Regions from separate parts of the Homo sapiens genome. Here all the other regions are linked to region 1. The links are contacts of gene promoters, found by promoter capture Hi-C in human tissues and cell types (Jung and others, 2019). All regions are on one chromosome and are shown on one strand. The core of a region is centred on a gene start or on the middle of the fragment in contact, and the rest is flanking DNA. Distances in the headings are between cores, read along the strand shown. Region 1 holds the start of POMC (proopiomelanocortin). Region 2 overlaps DTNB (dystrobrevin beta). Region 3 overlaps CENPO (centromere protein O). Region 4 overlaps DTNB (dystrobrevin beta).

Region 1 (3,075 bases), core at 400-2,899:
AAGGAACCCAGTTAAAGAAGTTGGGTCCATTTGGATTTTTCCTGGTTTGTTTTATCTGCTGCCACCAGCAGCCTCCTGAAGTTACAAAAATAACACAAAGTAAAATAAGGCAAAACCACCATCTGCTTGAAAGAGTTTACAAACCTGATGGTGGTCGTGGGGTGGATGGAAGATTAAAAAAATGGGGACAGAAGTGAATTAGTGCAAGCCACTTGCACTGACAAGATGGGGATGGACTTCTGTGGAAGGCAGAGGAGGTCATGCCTCATGCCCCTGGTAGGAAAAGTGGCCAAAGAGGGCTTCAGAGAACAGGGGCTGATGGATGGGCTACATCTTGATGTGAGTCAAGCTCCTGGATGGCTGGAGAGAGGAAGGATGTTCTAGTTGGGGGAACAGCTTGGACAATGGAGACCCAAGAAAGCCATGTTCTAGCAGTGTGAATGTTGTGGATGCTGAAGTGCCAGGATGCAAGGTGGAGAACTGGGAAATGGCCCTGGAAAGGGGCCAAAGCCGGGTGATGAAGCACCTTGTCTACTGTGACGGAGCTTGGATCTCTCTTGTGGTCCAAAGGGAAAGGATTGCTGAATGTAAAGCCAATGTCACCAGAAAAGCTGAATCCACAAGAGAGTCCTGGAGTCCAAAAGAGCATCTCATGGGGAATCAGGAAAGTTCTGGCATTTGGCAGATTAAGCAAGTGTCTTGATTTGAAGTCCAGTTTAGTCCCAATACTCCCTCCCACACCCACCACATCGCACAATTTGGTTTTGTTTATTTACTCCAGGTTAAGGTAGAGTCTCTTAGCTTGGTTTGAGTGCTGTACTCTTCTCTCTGGTCTGATATTTGGAACTAAAGCCAAGCCAGAACTCCAGGGCCAAGGGGGATGTTGAAAATTGTCTGAGTCCCCAGACCACCCTGCCAGCTCATGGCAAAGGGAGGGATCAGAGGCCACAGGGAAAGCACTTCAGCTGCTCTTCACAGCATCACCCTCTCCCCATTTAATGGTTTAGGTTAACAGGACTTTTTCCTTGAGGCTTGGGACACGGAAGGGAGCCTCCCCTAAACCAGGCCCTTGGAGAGCAGGCCCCAGGGGAGCAGTGCAACTCACCTTCACACCCACAAGACGGCTCCTGACTTCTGCTCCCTCCTCCCCTCCCCAAAGTGGAACAGAGAGAATATGATTCCCCACGACTTCCACATCACAGTTTCCAAACAATGGGGAAATCGGAGGCCTCCCCGTGTGCAGACGGTGATATTTACCGCCAAATGCGAACCAGGCAGATGCCAGCCCCAGCACGCACGCAGGTAACTTCACCCTCGCCTCAACGACCTCAGAGGCTGCCCGGCCTGCCCCACACGGGGGTGCTAAGCCTCCCGCCCGTTCTAAGCGGAGACCCAACGCCATCCATAATTAAGTTCTTCCTGAGGGCGAGCGGCCAGGTGCGCCTTCGGCAGGACAGTGCTAATTCCAGCCCCTTTCCAGCGCGTCTCCCCGCGCTCGTCCCCCGTCTGGAAGCCCCCCTCCCACGCCCCGCGGCCCCCCTTCCCCTGGCCCGGGGAGCTGCTCCTTGTGCTGCCGGGAAGGTCAAAGTCCCGCGCCCACCAGGAGAGCTCGGCAAGTATATAAGGACAGAGGAGCGCGGGACCAAGCGGCGGCGAAGGAGGGGAAGAAGAGCCGCGACCGAGAGAGGCCGCCGAGCGTCCCCGCCCTCAGAGAGCAGCCTCCCGAGACAGGTAAGGGCGCAGCGTGGGGGACCCGTGCTCTTTCCCCGGGATCCCCTGTCCCCGTCCTCGCGATGCAGTCGGCCGGCTCCGGCTCCGAAGGCGGACCTGGGCGCCTCTGGCTCTCCGCGGTCCCGAGTTCTCGACAAACTTTCTGCGCCGACTGCGGCATGAGAAGCCGCCAGTAGCTGAGCTGGAGGGCCCACGTCCGGCCCCTGGGCGGACGGCCGCGAAGCTGCAGGCGCTGTCTCCAGGGAGCCGGCGGCCTCCTCTCCCCCAGGGGCTCGCGGCGGTCCGGAGGCTCCGAGAGCTTGCTAGGAGGTCTTGGGACAACCCGGTCTTTTTTTTTTTTTTTGAGACGGAGTTTCGCTCTTGTTGCCCATGCTGGAGAGCAAAGGGGTGATCTCTGCTCACCGCAACCTTCGCCTCCCGGGTTCAAGCGATTCTCCTGCTTCAGCCTCCCGAGTAGCTGGGATTACAGGCATGCGCCACCACGCCCGGCTAATTTTTGTATTTTTAGTAGAGACGGAGTTTCTCCATGTTGGTCAGGCTGGTCTCAAACTCCCGACAACAGGTGATCCGCCCGCCTTGGCCCCCCAAAGTTCTGGCATTACAGGCGCGAGCCACCGCCCCCGGCCAGCCCGGTCTTTTAGTATCTCTTGCTCCCAGTTTCCAGGATAGGTGTCACATCTTGAAAGTCAAATTCCATACACGCTATCGCAAATTAATGTTGGAAACGGGGCAGCAGAGAAAAGGATAAAAGTCATAATGAACGCCCTGCCTTCCGGATTTTTTCGGATTCAGACCCCTGAATCCTTGTTTCCTTGCCCACCTTAGCGCACCCGAGGTGGCCGCGCTATGATAATTACATGATAACTGGGTCAATTACAATGCAGAATAGTTGGGTCTCTTCTCTCCAAGACCTAGCTGGGGTTAAAAACAGGTGGCCGGGGCGGGAGCTGTCCTAGATCCTGAAACGCACTGTCTAGTTTCGGATGCCCTCAACAGAACCGGGGTGGACGGTTTATGGCGCAGATCCTGGGTTGAGGGCACGGGCAGCCATTTGGAATGATCAAGGCTCAGGTAAGGGGCGTTTCCAGCGAAGGAGAGACAGTCCACTTGGCATTTGGATTCCCCAAATTCTTCATGTTTAAATGGGGCAGGGAGGGTTCTTACAGAATGGCTGGAAGGAGCCAAGGAAAATAAAAGTGTGTGTGGATTTTTTTTGTGTGTGTGTCAGTTTATAAACTCTGCACAGATTATGGCCACTTTAATGACTTACTGTTCCTTTGATGCTTTTGTTATAGGACTCGATGCATGTATGTCATGGTGTAAGGACAAAACTCGGCCCCTGTG
Region 2 (3,075 bases), core at 398-2,897, 430 kb before region 1:
CTGTTATAGTTTCTTATGAATAAAAAATTTTGTATTACTTTGAATCTATTCATATGACGTAGTAACTAAGTATAACTGAAATAATACTTTTTTGTGGGAGTGGTTAGTCATTTTACTATCCAGTCACTCCTTTTTATTACTCTGAATGAGTTAGGTATAGATTCGTTGGTGTGGGTGTATACCTACACATTTTTGTGATTGTGAAGCTATACATATATATATTAATGTACTTGAAAGCTAAAGTCACTGGTCCTGAATATTTCCACCACTAGTGGCCACAGGTTAATTACTCATTAGTTAATTAGTTATGAATACACAGAGTGGCGATAGAAAACTTGACTGAGAGTGGCTTAAGCAGATTGGGATTTATTTTTCTCATGTAAAAATAAGTCCAAACGCTGAGAAGTTCAAAGTTGGTACCCTGACTTATGGCTGTCCTCACAGACTTCACTTCTTCCCGTCTTTCTTCTGCCATATGGCCTTCGTCCTTAGGATCAAAAGATGTTTGCCATATCCCAGGCCTCTGTACTTACTCCAGGCAGAAGGAAGAAAGAGTTGCCTCTATGAAGAAAGCAAAGGGTTTTCCAGACATCTACTCCAGCATTGCAATGTGCAAAGGAGGCTGAGAAGTCATTCGTTAAGTGGCACATAGTCATTCCCAGCAGTCGGGCTCAGCTAGTGAGCGAGAAGGGGAAGAAGATACTGAGGCACCTGGCAGTGTCTGCCACCTCCCATGTTGACCCTTTGTTTTCATTCAGATTCAATGAACGATTATTTTCCTCCTTGTAAGACTAGCAGCTATTTATTTATTTTTGAGATAGGGTCTTGCTCTGTTACCCAGGCTGGAGTGTAGTGGTATGATCAGAGCTCACTGCAGCCCCCAACTTCTGCACTCAAGCGGTCCTCCCCCTTCAGTCTCCTGAGTAGCTGGGAGTACAGGCACCTGCCACCATGCCTAGCTAATTTTTTTTATTTTTTGTAGAGACAAGGTCCTGCTATCTTGCCCAGGCTGGCCTTGAACTCCTGGGCTCAAGCGATTCTCCTCTGCCTGGGCCTCCCAAAGTTCTGGGATTACAGGTGTGAGCCACCACGCCTGACCAGCAGCCAGCTATTTAAAGGTTAAATCATTTATGTTCTTCCCTCCTTTGAAGAGCATCATTTATTCATATCATTGGTAACATTTTCAAAGTTCTCTATCTGCAGTCTAGAACTGTGGTCAAATATTGTTTCTAACTGTCTGCATGGTAGTTCCACTTAAAAATTTGCTAGTTTGGGCCAGACACTGTGGCTCACACTTGTAATCCCAGCACTTTGGGAAGCCGAGGCGTGCATCACGAGATCAGGAGATTGAGACCATCCTGGCTAACACGGTGAAACCCCGTCTCTACTAAAAATACAAAAAATTAGCTGGGCATGGTGGCGGGCGCCTGTAGTCCCAGCTACTCAGGAGGCTGAGGCAGGAGAATGGTGTGAACCCAGGAGGTGGAGCTTGCAGTGAGCCAAGATCACACCACTGCACTCCAGCCTGGGCAACAAAGTGAGACCCCGTCTAAAAAAAAAAAAAATTGCTAGTTAGTTCAAACAGTAATGTTCAAAGCTAAGTGTAATATCTTTATCTTTGATTTGCTTATGTCAATCAGGATTTGTCATCATTTCCCCAAACTAGAAACTTAAAATAATCCTAACTTTTAAACTTCCTTTATTCCGTAATCTAGTTTGCCATCAACTGCAGTTCCTTGCATTGAAATGCCTTGGACTTGGCCTCCCCTGTCCCCGCACACACTGTCACTGCTGTAATCCAGGCTCCCCCACAACCTCCTTTGTGCATTGTTTACAAGGTTTCCTAGCTGGTGTCTCCAATTCCATTCTTTTTCTTTTATTCATTGTGTGCCGGTCATTAACAGTCTAATTGCCTTGAAACCTAGCTTTCTAAAAATTTGATCTCTACTTAAAAGTTTTTAAGCTAAATCCAGATTGCTTCCCTCTTTCATCGTTTTCTTTTATAACAGAAATACTCTTCCTATTCAGTCTTTATTTTTCTTTTTTTCTCACTATAAATTGGCTGTTGTAGAATTTTTTCTTCAATACCCTGTTTCCTGCTTATCACCGGTAAGAGATACAGGCTGCATGCTCCTGTCATAGACTTTTATCCTACTCTTCTTTAGTGCCCCCCAGTCCCTATCCTCAACCTGTTTTGACCCCATCATTCCAGATCCTCTCTTTCAAGGCCTAGCTTCCAAATGTCTTTATTTTAGAACTTGACAATTCCTGCTTATGTGTTTTTGTATCTATTCTAAATTATATTTTGAAGGAGTGTGGTGTAATGGTATTTATTTTGGAGTCAGATAGGTGTGGTTTTAAACTTGATTTGGCCTCTGAACTTTTTGACCTTAAGCAAGTTAACCTTTCTAAGCTGTAATAGTAGAGTAATGCTTAGTGTTAGAGTTTGTTGCATGAGAGCAAAAACCCGGAATAACAGTATCGTAAACAAAGTTGAGGTTTAATTTTCTCTCACATAAAAGAAGTCCAGAGGTGGGTAGTCCAGGGCCAGTATGGTAACTTCATGTTCATCTGGGATTCACACTTTGTCTTTTTTTTCCCCTACCATTCTAGAGTGATTTCTATATCAAGATTGAGATTACCACATAGTGCAAGATGGCAGCTGGAGCTCCAGCTATCATAGCTGCACTCCAGGTAGAAGAAGGAGGAAGGGAATAAGGAACAAGTGGCCTGCTTTTTTGGCTCAGTTAGGTTTGTTTACCTAGTCTTCTGGAAGTCCCCTACAACCCTTCTGCTTACAAGCTCATTTTAGCTAGAAGTTAGTCACATGACCGCTACTTGCTGGGAACTTGCAACTTGTTAGTTGGTACATTACTGCACAAAATAAAATTAGTGTTCTGTTACTAAGGAAGAAGAGGATAATGTGGCTACTGGCAGCTCAGCATAGTTAACTGAAGTGGCGCCTAGCACATGGTGGGGCTTATCATGTATCTTTTTGCCTCTGTTTTTTCTGTTGTCAGCTCAAATTCTTCTCTGTTTCATGTGTATCTTATTTTTCCAGCTACATTGAAAGTT
Region 3 (3,075 bases), core at 291-2,790, 360 kb after region 1:
AGAAACACCCAAAATGTTAACAGCAGCAGCATTCATAATTGTCCCAAAGTGAAATAACCCCAATAACCCAAATGTCATCACAGTAGAATGGGTAAATAAATGTAGTATACTCATAAAATAGAATTGCTATTCAGCAATAAAAAAAATGAGCACTATAAGCAGAGTGTAGGTGAATCTCACAGTCAGAACATTCAGCAAAAGAAGCCAGACATAAGAGTTTGTACTTTTTAAGCTATAAATTAGCTTTTTAACATTTATATAAAGTTCAAAATCAGGTAAAACCTATGTATGGTGACAGAAATCAGAATAGTGGGTACCTTAAGAGAAGACTTAAGAGAAGACTAGGAAGAGGCAAACTGGAGGCTTCTGGGTGTTGGTAATGCTCTATACTTTAATCTCTGTCATAGTGCACTTCATATATATTACACTTTAATTAAAAAAAAAGAACGGAAGAAGGGAGGAAGGAAGAGAGGTACAGGTGGAAAAGGAAGAGGGGGAGGAAGGCTGATATCCAATGGGCAATGAAGGGTTGTTGACGGCTTTTGAGCAGAGCAATGGTGCGGTGTTTCATGAAGCATTTTCTTGGCTGTGCAGGATTTATTGGAAAAGCAGAAATACTAGAAGATGCACCAACTGGCAGACTACTGTCATAATCCTGATATCCAAATCACCTGATATTTACTCCATATATGACTAATATTTGAGCTGTGGCAATGGAGGAAGGACAAAGGCAATATAAAAGAAAAATCTGATAGGTCTTGCTGACTGAACCTAGGCTAGAGAGAAAACTGAAAAAAGGGAAGGGTCAAGCTCCCTAGGAGGTTGAGTCTGGATGACAGATGTCAAAAATGACACAAGTATCAACAACTCAAGGCAGGCCACTTTAAGTATTGGTAAAAATGCAAAACAAGGGAAATCTTATACAACTATTGCTGGGAATGTAAAACTAGTACAATCACTTTCAAAAACTGGCAGTATTTACTAAACCGAATATGCATATCCTATGACTCAGCAATTCTACCAGGCATATACCCAATATGTATATGATTGAGGTAACAAACTTAGGTGTTTATTAGGGCAGGTTAAGAACCTGTCAGGAAGAACTTGCCTGGCTTACCAGTAGTGCCTGACAAATGTTAGGTGAGGGGGTGGAGCCAAGATGGCCGAATAGGAACAGCCCCAGTCTACAGCTCCCAGCGTGAGCAACGCAGAAGACGGGTGATTTCCGCATTTCCAACTGAGGTACCAGGTTCATCTCTCTGGGAAGTGTCGGACCGTGGGTGCAGGACAGTGGTTGCAGCACACCGAGTGTGAGCCAAAGCAGGGCGAGGCATCGCCTCACCCAGGAAGCGCAAGGGGTCAGGGAGTTCCCTTTCCTAGTCAAAGAAAGGGGTGACAGACGGCACCTGGAAAATCGGGTCACTCCCACCCCAATACTGCGCTTTTCCAACGGTCTTAGCAAACGGCACACCAGGAGATTATATCCCGCGCCTGGCTCAGAGGGTCCTACGCCCACAGAGCCTGCTCATTGCTAGCACAACAGGCTGAGATCAAACTGCAAGGCAGCAGCAAGGCTGGGGGAGGGGCGCCCGCCCTTGCCGAGGCTTGGATAGGTAAACAAAGCAGCCTGGAAGCTCGAACTGGGTGGAGCCCACTGCAGCTCAAGGAGGCCTGCCTGCCTCTGTAGACTCCACCTCTGGGGGCAGGGCATAGCAAAACAAAAGGCAGCAGAAAACTCTGCAGACTTAAATGTCCCTGTCTGATAGTTTGAAGAGAGTAGTGGTTCTCCCAGCACGCAGCTGGAGGTCTGAGAACAGACAGACTGCCTCCTCAAGTGGGTCCCTGACCCCCGAGTAGCCTAACTGGGAGGCATCCCCCAGTAGAGGCAGACTGACACCTCACACAGCTGGGTACTCCTCTGAGACAAAACTTCCAGAGGAACGATCAGGCAGCAGCATTTGCTGTTCACCAACATTCGCTGCTCTGCAACCTCCGCTGCTGATACCCAGGCAAACAGCGTCTGGAGTGGACCTCCAGCAAAATCCAACAGACCTGCAGCTGAGGGTCCCGACTGTTAGAAGGAAAACTAACAAACAGAAAGGACATCCACACCAAAACCCCATCTGTACGTCACTATCATCAAAGACCAAAGGTAGATAAAACCACAAAGATGGGGAAAAAACAGAGCAGAAAAACTGGAAACTCTAAAAATCAGAGCGCCTCTCCTCCTCCAAAGGAACGCAGCTCCTCACCAGCAATGGAACAAAGCTGGACGGAGAATGACTTTGACGAGTTGAGAGAAGACAGCTTCAGACGATCAAACTACTCCGAGCTACAGGAGGAAGTTCGAACCCATGGCAAAGAAGTTAAAAACCTTGAAAAAAATTACACGAATGGCTAACTAGAATAACCAATGCAGAGAAGTCCTTAAAGGACCTGATGGAGCTGAAAACCATGGCGTGAGACCCACGTGACGAATGCACAAGCCTCAGTAGCCGATTCGATCAACTGGAAGAAAGGGCATCAGTGATGGAAGATGAAATGAATGAAATGAAGCAAGAAGAGAAGTTTAGAGAAAAAAGAATAAAAAGAAACGAACAAAGCCTCCAAGAAATATGGGACTATGTGAAAAGACCAAATCTACGTCTGATAGGTGTACCTGAAAGTGATGGGGAGAATGGAACCAAGTTGGAAAACACTCTGCAGGATATTATCCAGGAGAACTTCCCCAAACTAGCAAGGCAGGCCAATATTCATATTCAGGAACTACAGAGAACGCCACAAAGATACTCCTTGAGAAGAGCAACCCCAAGACACATAATTGTCAGATTCACCAAAGTTGAAATGAAGGAAAAAATGTAAGGGCAGCCAGAGAGAAAGGTCGGGCTACCCACAAAGGGAAGCCCATCAGACTAACAGCTGATCTCTCGGCACAAACTCTACAAGTCAGAAGAGAGTGGGGGCCAATGTTCAACATTCTTAAAGAAAAGAATTCTCATCCCAGAATTTCATATCCAGCCAAACTAAGCTTCATAAGTGAAGGAGAAATAAAATCCTTTACAGACAAGCAAATGC
Region 4 (3,075 bases), core at 391-2,890, 340 kb before region 1:
AGGTTGCAGTGAGCCGAGATCGCATCACTGTACTCCATTCTGGGCAATAGAGCGAGACTCCATCTCAAAAAAAAAAAAGAAGAAGAAAGGCACTTAAAAACCTCAGCCTTGAGTAATCTCCACAGATAAGTTCCAAGGAACTTGAACTCACGTAAGAAAAAAATAAGCTGGCCTGTGTAAGAATTAACAGGAACAATACATTAAAGTCCTACAAAGAGTGTGAACTATCAAATACAGCATATAAAGTAAATATTTTTTTAAAAAAGGAGTATGTTAAAAGTATAAAGTATGGAGAAACAAAAGAATATAAAAATTACCAGAAAATCTGAAAAGGAATCAAATAAAACTAGGAATTAAAAAAAAAATAGAAACCTCAATTAGATAAGGTAAATATCAGATTAGATTTAGAGATTATAAACCTACAGATAATTGGAATTCCAGAAGGACAAAATAAAAAAAATTCTTGGTAAGGCCAAAAGATAATGAATGGAAATTGTCCCAAGTTCATAGCAGTGGTCAACAAATCTTAATTAAGAATCTAGGCCGGGCATGGTGGCTCATGCCTGTAATCCCAGCACTTTGAGAGGTCAAGGTGGGCAGATCACTTGAGGTCAGGCGTTCGAGACCAGGCTGGCCAACATGGTGAAGCCCCATCTCTACTAAAAATACAAAAATTAGCCAGGTGTGGTGATGCGTGCCTGTAGTCCCAGCTACTTGGGAGACTGAAGCACAAGAATCACTTGAACCCAAGAGATGGAGGTTGCAATTGAGCTGAGATCGCACCACTGCACTCCAGCCTAGGCGACAGAGCAACACTCTGTCTCAAAAAAAAAAAAAAAAAAAAAGAATCTAAAAGAAAATTCATACCTACACACATCATAGTAAAGCTAGAGGACCCCAGAGACAAAGAAAAGATACTAAAAACAAATAGAAGATTATTTACAAAGAATTGACAATTTCACAGAGAGCTGACTTCTGAAGAGCAACATTAGAAACCAAAGGAGAGTGGAATACGATCTTCCAAGAACTGAGAGGAAAATAATAATCCTAAAATTGTATACCCAGTGAGAAAATACCTGTCAAGAAAGGCAAAGACAAAAACATTTGCAGATGAATAAAAATGCTCACTACTAAAGGAACCTCGCTAAAGGAATTTGTAAAGGGTATGTTTCGAGGAGAAGGAAAATGATCTTAGGCATTTGACAAAATTCAACCCTCAATTCACATTTTTAAAAACTCTCAGAAAGTTAGGAATAGAGGGTACCTTCTCAATCTGAAAATGCACATCTATGAAAAACCTACCTAGCTACCATCATACTTAATGTTAAAAGACTGAACATTTTACCTTAATATTGGGAACAATGCAAGAATGTCACTCTTAGTGCATCTATTCAGCATTTTACTAGTGATCCTAGCTAGTGCAGTAATACGAGAAAAAGAAATTAAAGGCATTCAGATCGAAAAGGAAATATTAAAATTTTCTTTATTCATAGATGACGTGATTGTGTACATAGAAAATGCTAAGGAATCTACAAAGCAAAGTACTAGAACTAACAAAGTTAGCAGTATTGCAGGACATAGATCACTTTAAAAAAATCAGTGGCATTTCTGTATATTAGCAGCAATTAGGAAATGAAATTTTAAAAAGCAATACCATTTATAATAGCATTGAGAAACATAACGTAGGAATACATATAATGAAATATGTGCAAGATGTGTAAACTAAATACTACAAAGTATTGCTGAAAGAAATTTTAGGGCCGGGTGCAGTGGCTCACGCCTATAATCCCAGCACTTTGGGAGGCTGAGGTGGGTGGATCACCCGAAGTTGGGAGTTTGAGACCAGCCTGACCAACATGGAGAAACCCTGTCTCTACTAAAAATAAAAAATTAGCCCGGCGTGGTGGTGCACACCTGTAATCCCAGTTTCTCGGCAGGCTGAGGTGGGAGTATCGCTTGAACCCGGGAGGCGGAGGTTGTGGTGAGCCAAGATCATGACGTTGCACTCCAGTGTGGGCAACAAGAGCGAAACTCCATCTCAAAAAAATAAAAAACAAAGAGCGAAACTCCATCTCAAAAAAAAAAAAACAAACAAAAAAGAAATGTTAAAAGCCCTAAATAAATGAAGAGGTATACCATATTTATAAATTGGAAGGCCAGTGGTATACCTAGCATATTTGACATTCAGAATGGATCATATTTAACAGCCCTTTCCTTTATATGTCAAAATTGTTAGTAATTATCATGAAATGAAACAGATAATTACTGATTCCTGCTTTTGTCTTATTATTCCTTTCGTTATCTTCAGATTTTCTCTGTTTATCAGTCATTCAGCAAATATTTATTGGGCACTTAATATGTTCCAGGCCTCACTTAAAGAAAAACAGACAAAACAATCTTTGCTCTCATGAAGCTTGTTTTTTAGTGGTGGGAAACAGGCAAAAATCTTAATAAATAAATAAATTATATATTAGAAGGTAATAAGTGCTATATAGAACAGCAAAATAGGGAAAGAGGGATGGGCAGTATTGGAGGTCTAGTGGGTTGCCATTTTTAATAATTGCTTTAGGCCTTAATGAAAAGTGACATTTGAACATCAGCTTGAAGGAGGTGATGGAGTTACCCTTTTGGGTATCTGGAGGAAGAGCATTCCTTGCCAAAGGAACAGGCTGGGCAAAGGCCCTGCAGCCAAAGCATACCTAGCATGTTTAAGGAACATCAAAAAGCTGGTAGAGGGGGAGTTAAATTAGCAAGAGGGAAATGAAATCAAAGATATTATGAGGGCTAGATGGTAGAGGGTCTTATATGCCATTGTAAGGACTAAGTGACAAGAGGATGTGTTTGGATTGCTTTGACTGATCTGACTTCCATTTTAAAAGGATGTTCTTTCTGGCCGCTGTAGAGAATAGACTAAAGCAGAGTCAGGATGGAAGGAAGGAGTCAGCTTTTGAAAAAGGTGAGAGGAAGACTTGGGTGGACGAGGTGGATAACAGTAGAGGTAATAAGAGGTGATAAGATACACGAACATTGGATGTACTTAGGGCAACAGTATTTGCTGACAAATACTGGAGAGTG

What was found. The method cuts DNA at HindIII sites, captures the fragments that hold promoters and counts their contacts. A contact is called where the count stands out against the background at its distance.
Region 2: a contact is called between a fragment that was not itself captured here and the fragment with the promoter of POMC in region 1, in 1 of the 25 tissues and cell types used here (lymphoblastoid cells).
Region 3: a fragment that was not itself captured here is called in contact with the fragment with the promoter of POMC in region 1 in 1 of the 25 tissues and cell types used here (aorta).
Region 4: a fragment that was not itself captured here is called in contact with the fragment with the promoter of POMC in region 1 in 1 of the 25 tissues and cell types used here (adrenal gland).

What each region holds. Positions count from the first base shown.
Region 1 is chr2:25,167,154-25,170,228 of GRCh38, reverse strand. It overlaps POMC (proopiomelanocortin), which reads left to right and starts at 1,649. Exons shown (of 3, transcript NM_000939.4): 1 at 1,649-1,731. RefSeq lists cis regulatory regions at 1,347-1,372, 1,373-1,546, 1,612-1,624, an enhancer at 1,533-1,552 and a promoter at 963-1,775. The HindIII fragment of the contact is 18,073 bases long and covers 1-3,075 here.
Region 2 is chr2:25,597,837-25,600,911 of GRCh38, reverse strand. All of the region lies in intron 5 of DTNB (dystrobrevin beta), which reads left to right. Among named protein-coding and RNA genes, the nearest start is that of DTNB, 74 kb to the left of the region's middle. The HindIII fragment of the contact is 7,124 bases long and covers 1-3,075 here.
Region 3 is chr2:24,804,541-24,807,615 of GRCh38, reverse strand. All of the region lies in intron 3 of CENPO (centromere protein O), which reads right to left. Among named protein-coding and RNA genes, the nearest start is that of CENPO, 13 kb to the right of the region's middle. The HindIII fragment of the contact is 4,865 bases long and covers 1-3,075 here.
Region 4 is chr2:25,507,517-25,510,591 of GRCh38, reverse strand. All of the region lies in intron 9 of DTNB (dystrobrevin beta), which reads left to right. Among named protein-coding and RNA genes, the nearest start is that of DTNB-AS1, 88 kb to the right of the region's middle. The HindIII fragment of the contact is 4,673 bases long and covers 1-3,075 here.